Regions from separate parts of the Homo sapiens genome. Here region 2 is linked to region 1. The links are contacts of gene promoters, found by promoter capture Hi-C in human tissues and cell types (Jung and others, 2019). All regions are on one chromosome and are shown on one strand. The core of a region is centred on a gene start or on the middle of the fragment in contact, and the rest is flanking DNA. Distances in the headings are between cores, read along the strand shown.

Region 1 (4,125 bases), core at 906-3,405:
TACATGTTTGAGGACTCAGGAAAATCAATTCTTACCTTCCACTCTTCCAAATGTAATGGTTGTATTCCAGCTTTACCATGCCCCATAAGCAAATGACTTGAGAGAGAGAGGTGGTTGGGGGCTGGGGGAGAAAAAGAAGAAGGAGAAGGAGAGGGAAGAAGAGGAGGAAGAACAGAGAGAAAGAAAGTGAGGGGAAAAAAAAGAAACAAACAAAAAAAGACAGGAAAAGTCTCTTAACATTGAAGAGATTGGATATCCAGTGTCAGAAAATTTGGATTTTCTTGGGAGTACTTATTTTATTTATGGTGGTAAATAAAGCCCTCAAGGAAGGTTATTAATTTATCTGTCCTATTTAGTATATTAAATTATACTACTTCATATTCTAGTGGCCTGAAAAAGTTAATTTACCACTTGAATGGCATAAATGATGAATACTTACACCAAGTCCTGGAATTTTCCAATGCTCAACAAACATTTAGTACTTTTTGTTTAGGTCTCGCTTTTTTTTTTTTTTATTAGTATCTACGAAAAAGGAAAACAAAATTGTAGCATTCTGTTGGGGCTAACAGGACAGCTGTTGGCTAGGCTAAATGCCATCTTGGAGTAAGAGATACTTTAACTTAGGGCACTGGTGCTGAGAGATGGAGAGAATATCAGAAAAGAAAAATGCAGGGTGGAAGTGTTGAGAGGGAGGGAGATGATGTCAAAATCCATTGGCTTCCAGTGTTTCTGCTCTTTTTAGCTGGGGTGCAGTAACCTTCCATCTTACAACTTTGGGTTTCTTTAAACTTCATGCCTGCCCTCTCTACCAATGTTTTATGAGCTGTCATGTGGGACTAGAATGGGATTCTGAAAATTAAGAGCTGATTTTTATTCCACCGGATATATCAGTTGCCTGGGGCAGTAAAATAATTTAGTTTTGAAATGAAATGTTATTCGTGGGAGACAAGTGCACAACAATTTACTTAACTTAAACAGTAGGATGAGGAGGAAGAGGCAGACACCCAAACTACATTTCATATGTAAAATAAGGCTTACATGACTTTTGGATGCTATAGAAATAAAATTTCTGTACTGAGGGGCATAATTATCCACATAAATCTTATATGAGGAACACAGACCAGTACAAAAGCAGCTGTATCTTTTGGTTATCTTGGAGGCAATATATAACCACATAAGGTAAAATTGGATGCTGCTTGCTTTCTCTAAAAGCTGTGAGGATGTCTTTCTGTTCCAGAAATTGCTTAATGCAAGTAAATGAAAATATACTGAATACATGAGTAAATTCATAAACAGAAATACAAATGAAATTTCTAAAGTAGGTCCTGGTGAGCCCCAATTTTATGAATTATTAGAAGACAATGCACCCAGAAACTAAGACACTAGCTTGAAGACTTTTTTCATTTCTTTTCTTTTTTTTTTTTTTTTTTTTTGTTGCTGATGTTGTTGTTGTTGTTGTCGTTGTTTTGAAACAGTGTCTCACTCTTGCGCCTTGGCTGGAGTGAAGTGGCTCGATCTAGGCTCATTGAAGGCTCCATCTCCCAAGCTTAAGCGATCCTCCCCACCTCAGCCTCAGGGAATGGATGGGACTGCAGGTGCACACCACCATACCCGGCTATTAATTTACTTTTGTATTTTTTGTAGAGACGAGGTTTCGCTATGGCTTCAAGACTTTAAAAGGCAACAATGACTCTTTTGAAATTGCCTGCATTATCAAATGCCTGAAGTCAACCACAATGAATGGTGAGTCTGGTTTCTCCATGACACTAGCAATCCTCTGAAATAAAGGAAGTTAGAATTCCAGAACACGTTTGGGTCTCTGACTCTTCCTCGGTGGCTTCCAGGAGTTTAGGTCAGCCTGCAGGCCCGACCGGAACCCCCGACACCCCTCCACGCGGATTCTTTACATCTCCCTCCCTACCTTGTTTACGCCCTAGGGGGTAGGGAAATGAACAGTCAGTCAGGTGAGACCCAGCAGGGGGAGTGGTGAGCTGGTCCGAGGGCAGCCCGAATATGTCCCTGGGTGTGGGTATGGGTGTGGGGCAATTTGGGTGGGAGCAGCGTGGAGGCTCCCAGGACCAAGTCCTGCGCCTCTTTGGCGGGGTGTGTGCAGGAGGAGGGGGGATAAATAGGAGGCTCCCTCCTCCCGGCGACATTCACGGAGCCGGCCGGCCTCCCGCCCTGGGTGTTTCCCTGCCTTGTAGCCAGGGTGCCAGCCTGGGAAGTAGTTTCGTTTCCTTCTGCCTCCGGGATTAGTTTCCAGGCACCCTCTCAGGCGCCCGAGGCCCGGGAAGGGGGCGAAGAAGGAGGGAGACTTGTCTAGGGGCTGCCCGGCCCGGCAGAGCGGGGTTGATGGACCGGGCCGCCCGGTGCAGCGGCGCCAGCTCCCTGCCACTGCTCCTGGCCCTTGCCCTGGGTAAGTGGCCGTGCTGGGCACTGGAAACCAGGAGGAAAGTCTGGGGCTGGAGTCGCGGGGAGGGCGAACCCTGAACCGAGCTGGCATCTGGACAAGAGGGCGCGCTGGGGCTGGCAGGCGCGGGTTGGAGAACTTTGAAGGCTGGGAGAGCGCGAGGTTAAAGATCTGGCAATTGGGCACCTGGGGCTGCACCTGCTGGAGGCAGTCCCTAGACGCGTGAGAAGGCCCGAGGGCGGAAGCGATTCCGAGGTCCTCGCTGCCAGTGCTGCGAGCAGGCCGCCAGCTGCTGACTTGTGCGCACAGCAGAGGGCCTGGCGGCGCCGGCGGGCTGTCCACCGGGGTGAGGCGCTGTGCTCGCAAGTGAGGGTCGGGGGGTGGGGGCAGGGGCGAGCAGGGAAACCCACTAAAGAAGCTCACGTGGTAGTATAGACCAAGAAGCATATCCTGCAGGAGGCAGAAGAACGGGAACTCTTTGACTGAAGGTGTGATCACCTGGCGTTAGGGAAGAGTGCCAGCGGGAGGAGGAGTAGCAGGATGCCTAGAGCCCTCCAGAGGGTCTCTCCTGCCTCCTTAGGAGTCAGAACTCACAAAGCAGAGCTGGAACTTCAGATGTGGCTGGAAGCAGGCTTCCCCTTCCCCTCCACCGAGGGAAGGTAGTGAGAAGGCTTCTAAGTAGGAAAAAATCCCAACTCTTCAAAGCTTGCTCTCTGCATCATGGTCATTTTGCGGGGCAGAGAAGGGAAGGGAAACCAGTAACATTTTCTAATCTTAGCTGGGCTGTAGACACATCTGGGTTTGGAGCATTTATGTGGTAGGAGGAGAGTCTCCACAGCTGAAGTGTCACCACGATATCACTCCTACCTTCAAGCCTGGGAAGGGGACACCACAAATGAAAAAGAATGGGAATTCCTCTTATTGAGGAAAGAGAGGGGGAGCCTAAATGAAAACTTTCATTTGACTGTGTCCTTGGAGTAAGAGAGGTGGCTAAAAAGGTACAGTGAACTTGCTTGGAGGTGGATCAGACTTAGGACCAAGGTTAGAGAAAATAAACTTATTTAACAAACGCTGAAGAGGAAGGAGTCAGTAACAATTTAGTGGTAGAGTGAATGTGTACATTCATGAAGAAGAGCAATGGGGTTGAGACTTAACCCTAGAAATAGTACTGATGCTTTTGCCAGCATTGCTTGCAAGTAGCTGACATTCTCTTCCTCCACCGTGTCTAAACTATCCAACAGTCAAAGTATTCCCTGAGAATCTGTCGTAGTCAGCAAGGTGCTGAGGTATGTAGCAATGGAGGTGGGGAAAGGGCTCATGAGATTCCTAAAATAAAACATGATTCCTGCCCTAGAACTTGCACTGAATTTGGATATGCAAGCCCAGCAGGGTAACCTGTGGAAAAATTCACGGAATCAGAAAAGGGAGAAAGAGCTCAACAGCGGGGGCTGGAATAGTGGGGAAAGGCTGAATGGAGGACACGAATGCGTGCCTTGAGGCTTGGGTAGAGTTTGCAATAGTAGAGAGGAAAGAGGGAACAGAGACAAGGGAAAAAGCATTTAGTAAAGGGTTGGCGATGCGAATGAGCATGCTTTACTGGAAAGAGTAGAATTTCTGAGAGGCAGACAGATTATGAAGAACTGAAAAAGCCAGATTAGAATATTTGGAACAGAATCAATAAGCTATTAAACACACACCATCACAGGGCTTGACTG
Region 2 (4,125 bases), core at 985-3,484, 710 kb before region 1:
AAATTAGTCATCGCCATTTACCATTTAAGTATAATGGATTCTTTTTACTTTAAAAAATATTTTAAAGCCCTTTTGTGAATAATGTGCAGACGAAAGAATAAAGGATAGTGAAAATTAACTTCACTGGAAATTTTACTAAGAATTTGAACACTGCAAACCCAAATTTTAATTCCATGTATTCCAAGTTGAAGATAATGTGTGCTCAAATATGTCAGTGTCCTCTGTAACTGCTTTTGACCCTTGAACAATGTTGGGGGTTAAGGGCACCAAGTGCCAGCTCAGTTGAAAATCTGAGTATAACTTTCAACTCCCCACAACTTAACTACTAATAGCCTGCTACTGACTGGAAGTCTTATCAATAACACAAATAGCCAATTAATACATATTTTGTATGTTATATGTATTATATACTATATTCTTAGGATAAACTAGAGAAAAATATTAGGACAATCATAAGGAGAAAATATGTTAACTGTTCATTAAGTGGAAATGGATCATCATAAAGGTCTTCATCCTTCTTCATGTTGAGTAGGCTGAAAAGAGGGAGGAAGAAGAGAGATTGGCTTTGCTATCTCAGGGGTGGCAGAGGTAGAAGAAAATCTGCTTATAAGTAGACCTGTGTACTTCAAATTTGTGTTGTTCAAGGGGTCAACTGTATTTACTTGTCAGTTGTCATGCTTGAATCTGGCACATGTGCATCGTGTAAATAACTGATACTAGATTTTAGATACATTTCTAATAGGTTCTAGCTTGTAATTACTTCTGGTTCTTCTTGTATTTGTATCATCAAAATGCAATACTAATTCCAGATCTCAAATACACCACTGATAAGTCTTGGCTTATCATTACTTCTGTACACATATTACCAAATTCAAATACATTTGAGAACTTTGAGAGTCGTAATTTGGTTGAAGAAAAGACGACCTTTCTTCATAATTGCATGCTCTGTAATTGCAAAACATTTTAATGAATTTTTTTCATTTTTACATCATCTGTTTCCTTTTAAGTACTTTAACATATGTACCTGCCTTCAACGTTTGTCCACTTATGAACCATATTAAGTAAATTTTGGTGTACAAACGTCATAAAAGATGGAAGAATATTATCACACATTCTTTAAGGATGTCCAGGTTTTTGTCATGAAATAATGTAATTTGAAGTCCTTCCTAATAAATGACTAAGTGAGGATACCATATTTTCTTTTTTTTTTTAATTAATTTTTTTTTGAGATGGAGTCCCACTCTGTCACCCAGGCTGGAGTGCAGTGGCGTGATCTCGGCTCACTGCAACCTCTGCCTCCTGGGTTCAAGCAATTCTGCCTCAGCCTCCCTAGTAGCTGGGATTACAGGCACTCGCCACCACAGCCAGCTAATTTTTGTATTTTTAGTAGAGATGAGGTTTCACTTTGTTAGCCAGGATGGTCTTGATCTCCTGACCTCGTGATCCGCCCACCTTGGCCTCCCAAAATGCTGGAATTACAGGTGTGAGCCACTGTGCCTGGCCACCATATTTTCTTTTTGTCCTTAGAAATATATTGTTCATTCCTTTTTTTCAGTGAGACCATTCATATGGTACATCATCTGAAAATCATAATCTGATTTATTGCTTATAGGATTGATTTCACCATCATTATAATTAGAGTCCAGAGCACTGGTTCTCAACTGGGGAGAGTTTTTTCCCAGGTGATATCTGGCAATGCCTGGAGACATTTTCAGCTGTTGTAACCAGGGAGTGAGGGGTAGCAGATGCTAATGACATCTACTGGATAGAGACCAGGGATGCTACTAAACATCCTATAATGTGCAAGACGCTTTCCTGCTACAAAGTATTATCTGGTTCAAAATGTAAATATTGCCTAGGTGGAGAACCTTCAGTCTAGAATGGTTATCTGCCTTTTTGCATTTATTTTCTGCTTTGTCTAAATTTTCCTTTTTTTTTTTCTATTTGTGAAAAATGAAAAATTCTGATTTCTCAACTGTGTTCAAGGAAAACTACAAAGAAGGTATCTGCGGACTCTTTAATGCCTTCTGGAAAGATGATGTAATACTTTGAGCAGTACAGAAAGAAAACCGAAGGATTATGCATTAGTGATTATTTCATGTCATTCTTTCATGTTTCTACATGAAAGGTCTTTCTACCATGCTTTGCATTTTAGTCTTTTTGTTAGGATAGTTGGGAATGATTGATAATGTGAAAGGATTCCTAGGATGCTGAAATACCAAAATTAGGAAAAATAAGATTAAGATTCCATAATGTATCAGATTTATGAAAGGGTTCAATGGACCCATATGATAATTGCAAACAGAATAGAATGAGTTTATTCTATTAAAGAAAAAGTAGATTTTCTTCTTTAGAAGATTTCTTTTCTCTTTTTTTTTGAGACGGAGTCTCACTCTGGCGCCCAGGCTGGAGTGCAGTGGCGCGATCTTGGCTCACTGCAAGCTCTGCCTCCTGGGTTCATGCCTTTTTCCTGCCTCAGCCTCCCAAGTAACTGGGACTACAGGCGCCCGCCACTATGCCTGGCTAATTTTTTGTATTTTTAGTAGAGACGGGGTTTCACCGTGTTAGCCAGCATGGTCTCGATCTCCTGACCTCGTGATCCACCTGCCTTGGCCTCCCAAAGTGCTGGGATTACAGGTGTGAGCCACCGCAGCTGGCCTTCTTTGGAAGATTTCTAAAGAAAGAATAAATGTCACAAAATATTCATCTTTAAAACAGAATTGATTAAAAAAAGAACTAGACCTGGGTACAGAGTGAATATTGTATAAAAAGGCTTTTGCAGTCATAAAAGCTTTGTTAAATGCTGAATTTAATCAAAATCCCTTCTCAGAACTTTTTTTTTTTTGAGACAGAGTTTCACTCTTGTTGCCCAGGCTGTTGTACAATGGCACTGTCTTGGCTCACCGCAACCTCTGCCTCCTGGGTTCAAGTCCTGCCTCAGCCTCCCGAGTAGCTGGCATTACAGGCATGTGCCACCATGCCTGGCTAATTTTGTATTTTTAGTAGAGATGGGGTTTCTCCATGTTGGTCAGGCTGGTCTTGAACTCCCTACCTCAGGTGATCCTCCCACCTTGGCCTCCCAAAGTGCTGGGATTATAGGCGTGAGCCACCGCACTGAGCCTTTTCAGAACTTTTAACTTGTTAATTGTACAGTGCAAATATCCAAGTATATTGAGTTTCTAATAACAGTATTTGATTATAGAATCCTTTTCATGTTCAGTGGAACATAATTAGGAGATGTTTAATGTATAGAATAACAGAATTTTCAAATAGAAAAGTTGTTTTATGTTATTGGGTATTGTAATATGTGACTCACGTTATAGACAAATAATTATGTTCACTTCAAGTAGGCATTTTAGGAGGCATTTTATCTTTTGTCATTGTTCAAAAATATTTGAAATGTTTATTTTCTGCAGTTGCTTTTAATGAGTGCATATGGCATACTGAAAAACTACCCTCGAGGATTTTTGAGTTCTTTTGATTTTTAAAAAATCTGCCAAAAGATATTGGAAGCAAAATCTATTAAGTTTGACAAATACTGTCTTTAGTCAAATGACATATGATCATCAATAATGACTATTATTTTTTAGATAATAAAAATATTAAAAGAGCTGGGCGCAGTGGCTCACGCCTCTAATCCTAGCACTTTGGGAGGCCAAGGCGGGCAGATCACCTGAGGTTGGGAGTTTGAGACCAGCCTGACCAACATGGAGAAACCCTGTCTCTACTAAAAATACAAAATTAGCCAGGCGTGGTGGTATATGTCTGTAATCCCAGCTATTCGGGGGGCTGAGGCAGGAGAATTGCTTGAACCCGTGGGCGGGAGGTTGCAGTGAGCCAAAATCGTGCCATTGCACTCCAGCCTGGGCAACAAGAGCAAAACTCTGTCTAAAAATATATACATATTTTATTGTATATAGTATGTATAAAAATTATAAATATATATTTGAGAAACTGGTTAGAGTTGAAAACTATCCTTTCATGATAACTTTTTAAAAAATCATGTTATTTGAATGTATTAATTCCTGTATTTTTGTTTGAAAATCAGTCTTTTTGGAGCTGCACATTCTTGATAGTCTTTTGCACCAAGTCTTTTTTGGGAATTAAACATTTTTGTCTTAGGTA

Evidence for each region. Contacts are between HindIII fragments. The study calls those that stand out against the background at their distance.
Region 2: a contact is called between a fragment that was not itself captured here and the fragment with the promoter of BTC in region 1, in 1 of the 25 tissues and cell types used here (lymphoblastoid cells).

What each region holds. Positions count from the first base shown.
Region 1 is chr4:74,792,553-74,796,677 of GRCh38, reverse strand. It overlaps BTC (betacellulin), which reads left to right and starts at 2,155. Exons shown (of 6, transcript NM_001729.4): 1 at 2,155-2,416. The coding sequence starts at 2,353. The HindIII fragment of the contact is 8,112 bases long and covers 1-4,125 here.
Region 2 is chr4:75,500,793-75,504,917 of GRCh38, reverse strand. The region is part of intron 3 of RCHY1 (ring finger and CHY zinc finger domain containing 1); the gene reads left to right. Among named protein-coding and RNA genes, the nearest start is that of RCHY1, 12 kb to the left of the region's middle. The HindIII fragment of the contact is 6,037 bases long and covers 1-4,125 here.